Regions from separate parts of the Homo sapiens genome. Here all the other regions are linked to region 2. The links are contacts of gene promoters, found by promoter capture Hi-C in blood cells and fetal thymus (Javierre and others, 2016). All regions are on one chromosome and are shown on one strand. Each heading gives the region's core, a stretch centred on a gene start or on the middle of the fragment in contact. The rest is flanking DNA. Distances are from core to core; before and after follow the strand shown. Region 1 overlaps LINC01765 (long intergenic non-protein coding RNA 1765). Region 2 holds the start of ATP1A1 (ATPase Na+/K+ transporting subunit alpha 1). Region 3 has its middle 64 kb from the start of TENT5C.

Region 1 (4,989 bases), core at 2,490-4,989, 1.3 Mb after region 2:
TATAATGAGATTAGAACAGAGCTCTGCACATTAAGTGCTCAGTAAATTCTATTATTTACATTATTCCCACAGAAAAGGTGCACATTTCTTCAGATCCTTTTGGTTTAGGGCCTTTAGTAACTATTGTAATGGTCCAGGCAAAAGATAATGAGGTGGGGATTGAAAGAGTGGTTTAAAGACAAGAAAGGTGGTAGACATCAGATAGAATCCCAGGGCTTGACAAAGCCATGTTGGGGGTAAAAAGAGAAAAGTCAAGGACTATCAAATTCTCAGGTAGGACCTGGAGAGATCATGGCAGAATCCACGACCACAGCCAGAGCCGGCTCCACCTGCACCAGGAATAAGGGAGTTGGTGCCACTGTGCTCAAAATCCAGGAGAGAGAACTGAACCCCAAGGAGAGTAGGAGCAAGAACCCAGGACAAGATGCCAAATCCAAGGGAAGCTTCAAACCACCAGGAGCTAAGGAGGCAATGAGCCTGTGACAGATGAATCTCACTCAGGGCTTACATAACTGATCTGGACATGGGGCACCCCAGGAATTCCCCACATCAGCAAGTGATGGTAAATTTGACTGACAGTTACCTATTTTCTGCTAAATTCCTAAAAGATCTTTAGAGCTGGGTGAGGAAGAAAAAATAGAGTCAATGAGATTCAATGTGAGTAGATGAAAATGAAAGTTTTTCATTATACACATCTAAGATGATGAGCTTTCATGAGTTGATAGAACCCTCATGAGAAATCTGGACACCCAGGACCTGGCCCCATCTTAAGTACTAACTAAAACATAACCTCTTTGGGCCTCAGTTTCCCCAGCTGTTTGATGAAATGATTGATCTTTGGGATCTTTTCAAGAGCTTATATTCTCTTCAAAGGAGTTTTAAAAGGCTTTCTAGTTGATTCTCTCAAGGAACCATCCCTAAACTTCACTAAGCTACTAGATATCATATGTGTCAGTCAAGTGGCATTTGCCAGAGTTCCTCAGTCAAACTTCCCCCTTAATATTATTTTTAAACCTATTAAGCCTCCATTCCATATTTGGTGGTATAACTTGTGCTTCTCCTCATCACCAGATCCTGCGGAAATTTCAGTACATCTTTCCTCATCACCTGTTGCTCTAATTTCTACAGATGCTTCTATTGCAACTAGCAGAAAGCCAACTCAAACTGGCTTGAAAAATAAAGGAAATTCATTGGTTCATATAACTGAAAGGTGTAGTAATTAGAAAATTTCAGGCATGATCTAATCAAACTGGATTTCATTCCATAATTCTCTTGGCTCTGCCCCTTCCCTTGTACACAATTTGTCTTCAGACTGGGTTCCTCGTAGTAGCAAAATGGCTGCAGCACTTCTAGGTCATACATGTGTTTAATACTGAGCAAGAGTCCAGAACCTCAGTCTGATTGAATCAATGTAGGTTATATAGCCATCCAAGGCCAGGGAAATGGGATTATGATGAATGGCTTAGGGCAATCAGGGCTTATCCCTGAAGGTGGTTGGGATCTACCCAACTCAAAACATATGGCTGCTACACCGTAAGACATGGTGGAGGTAACCAGCATTTTCACACTGCAGTTGAGGTTATAAACTCTGTTCTGCCCCTCACCTCCTGCAGTATTCTCTCTGCCCTGTAGCAACACAAGGAAGAAGGCAACTGTCCTTTCCTTTGAATCCTCCAGAGAAAACACCACTCTCACAGGCATTGTGGGTCAGATTCACAACAGGGCAGGTAGTTACAGAGCAGCACAGCTCAGCACATATTTTTCAATGTAACATCCAGCATCTTGTTTCTTAAAGGTTCCTGACTATCTCTGTAACTGGTATTTTCTCACTGACACTGTTTTAATCTTGGGGTCTAAGCTACCACTTTGTTGTTGACTTTAATCTACATTTCCCTGGTTTCTGGGATTCAGAACATTATCGTATGTTTATTGTCCAGGTGGATTTACTCTTTTGCAAAATACTCTTTCAAGTCTTTTTGCTCATTTTTATGTGCAACAGGTACATATAAAAGGTGGATGGACTTTTATATAAAATGTAAAATAATCTGTCTTTTCTTAATTCTGTGTAGGAATTTTTAAAATATTCTCGATACTGGTTTTTTGTTGAATGGTTGCAAATATCATCTTCCATTTTATGGCAAGCCTCTTTACTCTCTTAACAGTATTTTCTGATAAATGAGGATTCTTAATTTTAACATAAAAACTCTTTTTCTTTATGGTGAGCAGGTACTTTTGTGACTAGCTTAAAACACATTTGCCTATCTGGAAGTCATATAGATATTTTCCTATATTACCTTCTGATGTTAGTTTATTGCTGCCTAACAAATGTACCCAAAGCTCAATGATGGAAAACAAAAATTATTTTGTTCTCATTCAGGTGCCTGGGTCAGCTGGTCCAGGATGGGCTCACTTTATCTTGGCTGGGCTTGGCTCCAGGCTGGGTTTGGCTGGGGCAGCTTCACCAGAGAACTCTACCCATGTGTCTCTCATCTCCCTGTCAAGGTCAGTGGGCTGGATCAGGCATATCCTTCTCATGGGGATGGCATAAGTGGAAGAGGGCAAGCAGAGATGTTCAAGGTCCCTTGAGGCCTAGGCCCAGAATGGCACACTGTCACTTCCACCAAAGGACTTAAGCCAAACATAGAGTCCAGGGAGGAAAAACATAATCTGCCCCTTTTATGAGAGGAACTGCAAAGTCACCTGGGAAAGGGCATGGGCACAGGGAGGAGAGAAGAATCGGGGCCAAAAAAGCAATAAACAATATTCTCTATAAACTTTATATTAATAGTTTTACCTTCCATTTAAGTATATACCCCAAATGGAGTTGATTTTTGTGTGTGATGTGAGATTAGGGTTAATTGTTTTTACATGGGGATACCCAGTTGCCCTAGTGTCATTCTTTGAGGACATTTTCCCACAGTGCATAGCAGTGGTACTTTCATCATAAACAAACTGTCCACATACACAAAAGTCAGTCTCTGGGCTCTTTTTCCTTTTAGTTTTTTTTTTTTTTTTTCTCTCCCAGTGCCGATACTACACTGTCCTAAATACTGTAGTTGCTTATAAATCTTGATATCTAGTAGAGCGAGTTCAGCCCACTTTGTTCTTCTTCAGTGATGTTTCAGCTATTCTTGATCCTTTGAATTTCCATATAAATTTTTCAGCATCATCTTGTCACATGCTGCCATGAAAAACCTACAAAAAATATCTTTGTGAAGATTTTTTATTGTAAATGCTTTGAATCTATACATCAAATTGGAGAGAATTGACATTTTTTAAATGTCGGTTTTGCTAATTCAAACTTAGCATATCTCTCCATTCATTAACAGCTTCCTTAACATTACCCAACAAAGACTTTAATTTTTCCCTGTAAAGTTCTTACATGTCTTTTCTAGAGAATAGATACTTCTTATGCTATTTTAAGCTATGTTCTTTTAAATTTTAGTTTCTGATTCATTACTGATCTAATGAAAAGATATTCTCACATTTATTTTTATCATCAGAAAATTTAATAAGCGCTCTTATTAATTCTAGTAACCTATTATTTTATGTAGAAAATCAAAATAAACACACAATTAGATCATCTGCAAATAATGACAACTTTCTTTCTTTCTTTCTAAGCCTTATACATTTAATTTCTCTTATTGAGCTCTCTGGTACAGTGATGAGTAGAAGTAGTGATAGCAGGAATGTGTCTTGTCACCAAAATGTTATCTTGTAGCAATGAATTCCCATCTATACCTAGTTGCCTAGAATCTTTACAACAAATCGATGTTGAATTATCAAAAGATTTTTCTGTATCTACTGAGATGACCACAGATTTTTCTCCTTTATTAATGTGGTAGGTTATACTGATTGAAATGTAAATCAACATTGTATTCCTGCCCTATACAGTCATGATGTATTAGGCTTTCTATGTATTAATGCATACCTTTTTAAATTTGGGAGAGTATATAGTAGGTGTATATATTTATGGTGTACATGAGATGTTTTGATACAGGCATGCAATGTGAAATAAGCACATCATGGAGAAGGGGGTGTCCATCCCCTCAAGCATTTGTTCTTTGAGTTAGAAACGATCCAGTTACACTCTTTATTTTAAAATGTACAATTAAGTTATTATTGACTATAGTCACCCTATTGTACTATCAAATAGTAGGTCTTCTTCATTCTTTCTATATTTTTTTGTACTTATTAACTATTCCTACCTTCCCCTCCAACTCCCCACTCCCTTTCCCAGCCTCTGGTAACTATCCTCCTACTCTATAGGTCCATGAGTTCAATTGTTTTCATTTTTAGATCCCACAAATAAGTGAGATATTACTATTTTGTTGACTATTATTTTGCTGAAGATTTTTGCATCTATGTTCATAAGTGAAATTGACCTATAATTTTCCTTTTCATTACTGTCCTGTCTTTTTCAGGTTTAGGTTTCGAGATCTTGCTACAAGTCTCATAATTTTAGTATTTTTTAAATGCTCCCTCTTTTTCTACTCTCTGGTAGAGTTTGCATAAGATTGGAATTACTTCATACCTAAACGTTTGGCAGAACACACCACTGAAGGACAATCTGGGCTGGACTTTTTTGTTTTTGTGAAAAGATCATATACAATTTTTTAATGCTTACAAGGCTATTCAAACTTCTAATTTTCATTGAGTGCATTCTGATGTTACTTTTCAAAGGAATCAGTCCATTTTACCTACCTTTCAAATTTATTTGCAGTTGTTTATATTATCCTATTATTATCTAAATCTCTGCAGATCTGGAGTTATTAATCTTTTTTTTTTCCTGACATTGGTTATTTGTGCAATCTCTCTTTTTCTTGATTATTTTCAACAGAAGTTACTGATATATTTAGGTATAAATTTACCATCTCATTGTATGTTTTCAATTTAGTCTACCTGTTTTACATTTCTTTTGTTCTCTGTGATGGTTAATTTTACATGTCAACTTGACTAGGCCAGGGGGGCCCCAAATATTTGGTCAAA
Region 2 (4,772 bases), core at 683-3,182:
TAAACCCCCCAAAATTAGCTCAGGAAGTAAACTTTTTTCTTTTTCTTTTAAGGCAGGAGAGACAAAGAATGAGCTTTAAAGTGCATGTTTACAGAAATGATCAAGGGTTTGACGGTGTGGTAAAAGCACAGGCCACTAACCCAGACTCCATCAGGGGAATGGAGAGGCCCTGTACTCCGCTCTTTGATGCCACCTGACCTGGACCAGCCCTCCACGCTGCATGCTTTTAAAAGCGAGGCGAGTTGTGCATTTCCACTTGTGCCTGTTCTCCCCACCAGGTCCAAGCCTTTCAATTACCTCCTTTAAAACTCCCTTAGAGTCCCCAAGGAGTGCAGCCTCCCTCTGCTCCCGACACTCTGTCTACACCCAGAAGCCTCAGGGCCTTCAAAGACCTACTCAGTGTCTGCACTGTGCTAAACCCTGGAGACAACGAAGTGGATTCTCTCCCATTTGTATTCTCATGACATGGTCACTTTCACCCCATGAACTCCGAGGTTATTCTGTGTAAATTTTTCTCAACTAGACTTTGGCTCATTTGGGGTCCAGGGCCCAGTCTCCTGCACGGGTAATAGCTAGGGGTAATCAAGTCTTCGCTACAGAAATGTAGGACAGCGGCGTTGTGACGATATTCCCACCACGCTCCGCGCCGCTCTCCAGCCCCAAGACCCCTCGTTTCCTTCAGGGACCGCCCTTTGGTGCTTCCGCGACGCTGGAAACCGGCAGAGATTCCTACCACCGTATTGCCTGCAGCCTCCAGTCCTTTTTCGGGTTTCTTGTACCCTGAGGCCCTGGTGGGTCTGCCTATCCTCCTTCAGGGCTCGTCCCTTCAAAAAAAATCTGCACGCCTCTCCCCACCATCGGATGACAACTCCAGTTGCCATCGGTGCATCCTGTGTTTACGGAAAGTGGCCCAAGAAAGCCCTCAAAAGTATACCTTAAAGGCCATCTTAGGGCAGTGAAGACACACCCTTTCTGGCACCAGCCCGCCCAGCCGGCTTCGCACTTAGAAGCAGCCAGTTTTTTCTTTGGGGGAGGGCGGCCGCCTCTGCGCGGAGCAAGCTAAGCCCCAGCGTCCCCAGGAGAAGGAGCCCCGAACCCGGAGGCTGCCCCCGCCGGAACCGGGGCCGCGGCGGGAACGGAGGCCCGGGAGGAGGCCCCGGCGGAGCGCCCCAGGGGAAGGGGAGGAGCGCGCCTTTCCTCAGGGCACGGAGGGCGGAGGGAAAAGGAAGGAGAAGGAGGTGACGGCGGTCGCAGGGAGGGGAGCCAGGCTCAGGGATGCCGGCTCAGTCCCGGGGCCGCCCCCGCTGCTGCAAGCCCCCTCCTCCCGGCCCCGAGGCTTCCCAAGCACCGCCTCTCGGAGCCCCCGGCCCGCTCGGCCTCCGGGGCGCGCAGCCCCCGCCCAGGGTCCGCCCACCCCCCTAAGCAATGCCGCGCTCCAGCCCCTCGGCGCTCCCTTCCCCCGCCCCCCGTTACTGCGCTCCCTCCATTTCCAAACTGCGTCGTCTTTTAAGCCGCGCGGCTCTGCCAGCCCACTCCACGCGGCGCCGCTTCCTCCTCCGCCGCCTCCCGCTGGCCGCGGTCGCCCTCCCGACTTCCTCCTCTTCCCCTCGAGGGCTCCCCGAGCCCCCTCCCCGGGCGCGCCGGACACTCACCCCCTTCCCCATGGTGGCGGTGCTCAGTGCCCGGCGCCGGGTCCTGTCGCTGGAGAATCAGAGAGAAAAGCACAGAGCAGCTCCCGGCCGAGCGAGCGGGACCAGGGGAGCCAAGTGGAGGGAGCTAGGGCTGCCGCGGGGCGGGAGGGTGGGAGGGCGGCCGGCGGCTCGGGCCGATGCCGCCGCCGCTGTTGCTGCCGCCGCCCGGGCTGCTACCGCTGTTGCCACGTGTCCGCCTCCTCCCGCCGCTGCTCTGCGCCCCAGACCCCGCCGCAGCTCCAGCCCGCGCCTCCTCCTCACTTCCTAAAATATGCAACCTGCGTGCTGGCCCCGCCCACGCCGCGAAACGTCACCGTTACCGGAGCAACCTGACACCGGCCGTGGGCCTGGCTCCGCCCCCTCCCGAAACCCCGCCCACGGGCCCGGACAGCGCCTGCTGCGGCCAGTCCTGGCTCCCGGCAGGAGGGCGCCCAGGTCTGGGACAAGCGTGTCCACCGTGTCCCGGGAGGGCTGCGGGGCGCTCCTGCTGGCTGAACAGCGGGGACTCGGCGGCCTTGGCCCTCCCACGCCCCTCCTCCCGCTGCCCTGCATGACCCGCCTACTATGTAGGGCCCAGGAGGTCCGCAGTGGGTGCGGTACGGTCTCGGAACTGGGCTCCCCCAGTCGCCGCCGACCCGGCACCAGAAGTCGTGGGCGGAACGGCTTTTCCAGCGCTTCGGCGATCTCCTCTGGGACTCAGGGATGCTGGAGGGGGCTGGCGCTCGGGTGTGATTGCAGCCAGCGCCTGACTGAGGGACTCCGCCCCTCTGTGGAATCCAGGCCCCGCGCCCACCTGCGGATGGCCTCCCCGGGCGCTTGGTGCTCTCAGAGTGCCTCCTGTGACTTGGGGTCCTCTTTATCCACTTCCCGCTCCGTCATAGCTGGAATCGATCTGAACTGGCATCGCCAGAAGTTTCAAGCGCCCTCCTCCCACCACCTCTCTTTCTTCGAGATTCCAAAATGAGAATCTGAAGGGCGACCAGCGAATTCATTCACGCTATTGTGTGAATGTAACCTGCTTGTCCAGTTTGGGGATTCTCTTTTTAGGGAAGAAAAACCTGAAACCCAAAGGAATGCGTATCCTTAGCTAGAGGAGCTAAATCAAGGGGGAGGCGTTTGAGGACTTGCCAGGTGCCTCTCCACGCCTCCACCTGTCACGGCAGCATCTCCAGCACAGCCTTGGGTTCTCTGGGGGGGCCCAGGAAACCACCACTCTCCCCGGAGATCCCTGGTTCCACTGCACTTTGGGGCTTCTCTGTCATTATAGCTTTTGCTTCTTAGCAAGAGGCTGCAATGGCTGAAGTTCTCCAACATTTTAAAAAACAAAGTATTATTAACAAGGTTTGCAGGAAGTCAAGTACTCTGGGAAAGGCCAGGATATTGACTTTCTAAGCAAAGGTTCCTAAGTTAAAGCCAACTCTATCAACTTCAAGTATTCATGTAGCATGAACAAACAAGGATATGAAACTGGAAAAAATGGAGAAGGAAGGAAAGAAAGGAAAAACTAGAAACTGTGTTGTCAGTTACATCATTAGGGTAATTCTCATCCCTTCTTACAAGATAGTTTCTTACACGAGTCTCTTCTCCTCAAGAATGTATTGTTAAAGGTTGATGTCTCCTACAGTGATCTAGAGACTTGGTTCAATCATTCTAGGCCATAGAGAGCAGAGGAATTGTAAATAGAATTCAAAACCCTGACTGCCTGGAGAAGAGCCCCCAAATTCAGAACAGAATTCCTTAGACTGTTAACAGAGGGTTACAGAGTGTTCGGGGATCCATCTCTAAGCTTCTAGAAAATGCTTTCTTTACATGCTTGATAGCCTCAGTTACTGTACTTTGTAAGATGCTTTTGCTTGCTAAAGATAGCTTGTTTAAGATTAATTACTCCTGGGCCAGGCACTGTGGCTCACGCCTGTAATCCCAGCACTTTGGGAGGCCGAAGCGGGCGGATCATGAGGTCAGGAGATCAAGACCATCCTGGCCAACCTGGTGAAACCCCGTCTCCACTAAAAATACAAAAAAAAACTAGCTGGGCGTAGTGGCACATGCCTGTAATCCCAGCTACTCGGGAGACTGAGGCGGGAGATTCGCTTGAACCACAGAATCGGAGGTTGCAGTGAGCTGAGATGGCGCCACTGCACTCCAGCCTGGTGACAGAGTGAGGATCCATCTCAAAAAAATAAATAAATAAAAATAAAAACAAAGATTAATTACTCCTTGGGCCCTGGTCTGAATGGGAAAAGTGCCGCGGCAACAACTAAATATATAAAGCACGGGTCGGAACAACGTAGATTTCTCCTGCCAGCTGATCTCCTTTTTCTCCCCTCATAAGTAAAATTCTCATTCATTCACTCAACAAAATAACCCTGATAGATCAAGGCACTTCCCTTTGTATCTAGAGCTATTTATTTGGCAACTGAAAATTGCTGAAGGTCCTTTCAGGAGGATCCCAGAGTTCTAGCTGTGTTCCGGTGTGAAGAAAGGGCAAAAAATATAAGAAACATTATCTTAAATCTGTATTTTGCTTTTGATGCCACACAGTAATTTCAGATGCACAGTGCCCTTGAATTCTCACAAGTCTTTGAGGTAAAGAAAAAGGTAAGGCATGACCAAGTCTGAGGCGCAGAAGGAAATCTCAGATATGAGAGAGACACCTTGGAAAATGGGTAAGCAAAGGAGGAAAAGTCCTTTTTTTTTTTTTTTTTTAAGAAAAAGCCTTCTTTTCTTCCCTTGGAAGAGTGGCTTCTGAATGAAATGAAACCTTATAGATGAAACATCAAGCTCCCTCATTTTATGATGAAGAAACTGAGGCCCAGGGAGTAATTGGTATTGAATATTCCAAGAATAGTGGCAAGACTTTCAGGTAGCTTTTCTAACTCCAGTGCAGGGGACAAATTTGGATTCTAGAAGAGAGGGTGAAGAAAGCAAAGGCTCTCTATTCTGTCTGCTGCTTATCCTATCAACTCTTTTCAAGCTTCTAACTTGGGGCACAGTTAAACTGATTGGCCTGGAGACTCAGCATTTATAGACCTTAAGGCTGCCAAGTATGGATAGCTTCGAGGAGAATTTGATCACAACTGT
Region 3 (4,377 bases), core at 873-3,372, 1.3 Mb before region 2:
GACAGTGCAGAGAGAGAAGGGAGATCTCTGTGACCCTGCACCAGGGCCAGCCTCTGCACTTCCCTTCTGCCTGGCAGCTGCCCAAGACTTTGACCCAAAGGCTCCCCCTCCACCCCATTGTTCTGTAGCCCTTGGAAGCCCATGGCACAGAGCTGAGCGGCAGGGGGCACCCCTGTGCGTCATTGTGCTCCAAGCAAAGACAATTTCCTAGGGAAGGCTGGAAGACAGACAGAGCCAAGCAAGCCCTTCTGTCCAGACAGAGCAGAAAATAGAAACTGCCAGGAGAGGAACCAGACACAGAGGCAGGGTGGAGCAAGAGGAATTGTCTGGAGACTCCTCTTCTTGGCTAATTGCTTTGAGTCTACACGTGGTTCAAGGCTGGACATATGGCCAAGCTGGGAGGGGCCTCAGTGACCATCCGGTCCACGCCTTCATGTCACAGATTGGGAGGCCATGGACCAGATAGGGGAGGGGATCTGCCCAAAGCTGCACAGCAAGTTACACAGGGCAGGACTAGAACCCACTGGGCCCAGGCTCTGGTGTGTATTTGGGCTGGCTGTCCTGGTGTCTGAGAGCACAGTCTTCCCCTCCCTATATTCTCCTCACTGCTCACCCTGCTCTCTGCCACTGCTGGAAAAGCAGCATTTCAGAAGGCATTTTAGAAATCTAGACCCAGTTGGTCCTGATCCACTCATGTGTCAGAACCCAGAGTTCAACCACTGTTGGGAGGTTTCAGCACGCAATTCTGTGAATCCTAACCCTGGGCCCAGGGCGTTCGGCCTGAGGTGTGACCTGTCTCTGACTGTTCCAGGAGATTTCTCCTGGTCAGGGGGACCTGAGATATAACCAGAGCACACTGAGGCATGAGGTGCCGTGGCAGCATCGTGCAGCGCCGTGTGGGCAAAGCATTGAGGAAGGCTCTCAGGCCAGCAGAGCTTTCTGAAAGGGACTTTGCCTTGGACTCTGATTTAAAGCCTCTCCTCCTGGACCAGTATTATAACAACCATCCATTCCTGTTCTTCGGGTTTGATGAGAATGGAAGAAAAAGAATGAAGGGAGAGAAGTGAAAGTCTCTGGGTTTTCATTGCCGCTGTGTCGTTTATGAGCTACGTGACCCTGGGCCAGTCCCTTCCCCCTCTGGCTTCTTTTTCCTCATTTGTTAAATGAAAGGGTGGTCCGAATGACTCTGCTGATCCTTCCCTTCCTGAGACTCTCTGACTCACGGGAACTCGAGAAAGTCCTGCCCCACACCCAAAGGCCCAAGACTTTCCCTTTGAGTGGCTTCCCTCTGTGGCATTGATCTCAGAATATTTAACCACAGGAGTCCTTGCCCCTTGAGTGTGGAGCTGAAGGATGAGCGCCACTTAACAGAGCAGGAAAACCATCCTATAAAGAGAAACAGGAGAGACTCCTTACTTTTTACCTACTCTCATCATTTCAAAAAGAGCACGCAGCTCCTGGTGGCACCAAGATACCGAAACTAAACCAGCGTTATCTGTGGGGCATAAGATTTATTTTTATTGTATATCAAGGGCTTCAGAAAAGAAACAACTTAGCTTTTTGATACTGAGGAAATTCTGTATCTAATTGTAGGTGCTATTTTCCCCTCATTCTTATCAGTGAAACTCTTTTTGGTACACAGAGTATAAGTTGCACTTTGATGCAGACATGTTCTTCCTATCCATGCTTCATTGCACTGAATGCATCTCACACTGCCCTTGGCCAGGAGCCCTTGTGCAGGGCACAGCCTGCATCACTGTCTATGGCAGCCCTGGTTCGTAGGGTGGCCTGTCTCATGCTTTCTTTAAACAAAAGTCTAACTTCCCTTTTCTTACATCTTGGCCCTGGTAGCTGAGACAGAAAACTTTAAGAGTTTAATTCCTAGCTAGGCGTGGTGGCTCACGCCTGTAATCCCAGCACTTTGGGAGGCCGAGGCAGACGGATCACCTGAGGTCAAGAGGTTGAGACCAGCCTGATCAATATGGTGAAACCCTGTCTCTACTAAAAATACAGAAATCAGCTGAGTGTGGTGGCGCATGCCTGTAGTCCCAACTACTCGGGAGGCTGAGACAGGAGAATTGCTTGAACCTGGGAGGTGGAGCTTGCAGTGAGCTGTGATCACACCACTGCACTCCAGCATGGGCGACAGAACAAGACTCCATCTTAAAAAAAAAAAAAAGAGTTTAATTCCTCAGTTTAAGTGGCTCATTTAAGATGCATGGTCATCCTCTGCCCACCCACCATCAGAGGCAGAAAAGAAATAGTCTTTGCAAAGAACACGACCACATCCACAGAAAAGCAGCTCTTTCTGTAATGCCTGGACTTACCTAGATCTGAAACCTCTTTTCCTTCTTTCCCTCTACCTCTATCCTGAGCACCATGTATCAGTCAGCTTCTGCTGCAAAGTTCCCAGGTGAAAAGTCATCTGTACCTCAATGACATACAATAATAAACTTTACCACTTCTGTGCTTCGGGTCAGTCAGGCAGCTTTGCTGATTTGGGCTGGACACATCACGTGTGAGGGGCTGCGGGCTGTTGGCTGATCTAGGCCACCCTTGGCAGAGGCAGCTGGGGAGATCGCGCACTGCTCCCTGGTCTCTCACCTCCAACAGGCTGGCTCGGGTGCATTTTCATATCTATGACAGAGGCTCAAGAGAGAGCCCTGGAAACGCTCAATGCCCCTTGAGGCCTAGGCTCAGAACTGGCACACTGACCCTTTGCTTCATTCTGCATGCCAAAGCAAGCCCTGCAGAGTAGGGAAATAAATACTGTGCTTTTATGGGAAGAACTCCAAAGTTACATGGCAAACGGCTTGCAGACAGGGAAGGGTAAAAAATTGAGGACATGAATGCTCTCAGCCTCCCGTGTCCCCATCCCCTCCTATGTGTTTTCCAGTCAGAAGACCTCTCCCCTGTATCTTCCACTGCTCCCTCTGTACTTGGTCAGACCCAAAACCAATGTATGTTTAATTCTTTCCTATCTTAAGAAAAAAGTATTACATAGCCCCCTTAAGCATTTATCATCCTGTATCTCCTTCCTTTCTTCTTTAGATAATTTATTCTAAGAATATAAAACATAGATGTATATAAGAAGAATATAAAATACAGAAGCATTGTTCCTAACAGTGTAACTGGAAGTAATGGAAACATCAGAAGCGGGGGACAAACTTAGCCAACTGCTACTTGAGGTGGGTGAATGTTCATTATGTAGACCTTATAAATGATTTATGCAATAATGTTTAAAAAGCTGCATGAGATAAAGTTAATTCAAGAAATAAGATATGGACCACACATATAAGCCCATTATAACTCTGTTAGCAAAAAGCTCTACCATGTAAAACTGGTGGAATCTGAATAAGATCTGGGGATTGGACCAATGTCACTTCCCTGGCTTTGAGGCTGTATTATACACATGTAAGATGTCCCCATTGGGGAAAATTGAGTGAAGGGTACACAGGACATCTCTGTACTGTTCTTGCAGCTTTCTGTGAATTTATAATCATTTCAAAATAAAAAGTTTTTTTCAATCCCCAAAACTTACAGAGAAAGAAGTTTAAAAAAATAGTTACATTATGTGATAGAAATATGAGTGATTTTCTATTTTGTCTAAATTTTTCATTTTTTAAAAGTTATCATGCAAGGGAGAAACCTTTTTTTTCTTTTCTTTTTTTCTTTTTCTTTTTCTTTTTTTTTTTTTTTTTTTTTTTTTTGAGACAGGGTCTTGCTCTGTTGCCCAGACTGGAGTTCAGTGATGATCATGGCTCACTGCAGACTCAACCTGCCAGGACCCCAAATAGTTAAGCCTTCAGACACACACCACCATGCTCACATAGATGTTGGGGGTCTCTCTATGTTGCCCGGACTGGTCTCAAATGCTTGGCCTCAAGTGATCTTCCTACCTCAGCCTCCCAAAGTGCTGGGATTACAGGCATAAGCCACTGCATCTGGCCAACTTCCCACTGTATTTTTTAAGAAAGAAATCCTAGATTCCCTCAGCCAGCTCTGAGCTCACTGTCCCTGGGCACAGGGCCTCTCATGGCCTCCCACTGTGGCCATTTTTAAAACTTCCCTTGGCCATCTGCTTGCCAGAGAACGCACTTCTTGAGGACAGGAGCTATATCTTAGTCACCTTTGTGCATCTCCTCTTCTCCCCTCTTACAAAACTTACTCATATTGAACAAATGTGTATTGAACCAAAAAATCTGCTGGATACTGGTGATCAAAAACCAAATACATCAAGATACATGGAAGAGTTCAAGCCCATAGACAGATGCCTGTTTAATACAACACAATCAGCCAGGCCCAGCGGCTCACATCTGTGATCCCAGTACTTTAGAGGCCGAGGCAGGAGGATCACTTTAGCCCACAAGTGTGAGG

The links. The method cuts DNA at HindIII sites, captures the fragments that hold promoters and counts their contacts. A CHiCAGO score of 5 or more calls a contact.
Region 1: a fragment that was not itself captured here is called in contact with the fragment with the promoter of ATP1A1 in region 2 in 1 of 17 cell types (activated CD4 T cells); the score reaches 6.8 in activated CD4 T cells.
Region 3: a fragment that was not itself captured here is called in contact with the fragment with the promoter of ATP1A1 in region 2 in 1 of 17 cell types (activated CD4 T cells); the score reaches 6.8 in activated CD4 T cells.

The regions. Positions count from the first base shown.
Region 1 is chr1:115,100,454-115,105,442 of GRCh38, reverse strand. LINC01765 (long intergenic non-protein coding RNA 1765) reads right to left here. Exons shown (of 2, transcript XR_947722.3): 2 at 2,762-3,195. Among named protein-coding and RNA genes, the nearest start is that of LINC01765, 3.3 kb to the right of the region's middle. The HindIII fragment of the contact is 6,588 bases long and covers 446-4,989 here.
Region 2 is chr1:116,370,404-116,375,175 of GRCh38, reverse strand. ATP1A1 (ATPase Na+/K+ transporting subunit alpha 1) reads right to left here and starts at 1,932. Exons shown (of 23, transcript NM_000701.8): 1 at 1,653-1,932. The coding sequence starts at 1,664. RefSeq lists an enhancer at 556-675 and silencers at 1,046-1,345, 1,776-2,305. The HindIII fragment of the contact is 4,966 bases long and covers 1-3,479 here.
Region 3 is chr1:117,667,996-117,672,372 of GRCh38, reverse strand. No RefSeq gene overlaps it. Among named protein-coding and RNA genes, the nearest start is that of TENT5C, 64 kb to the right of the region's middle. The HindIII fragment of the contact is 5,640 bases long and covers 1-4,377 here.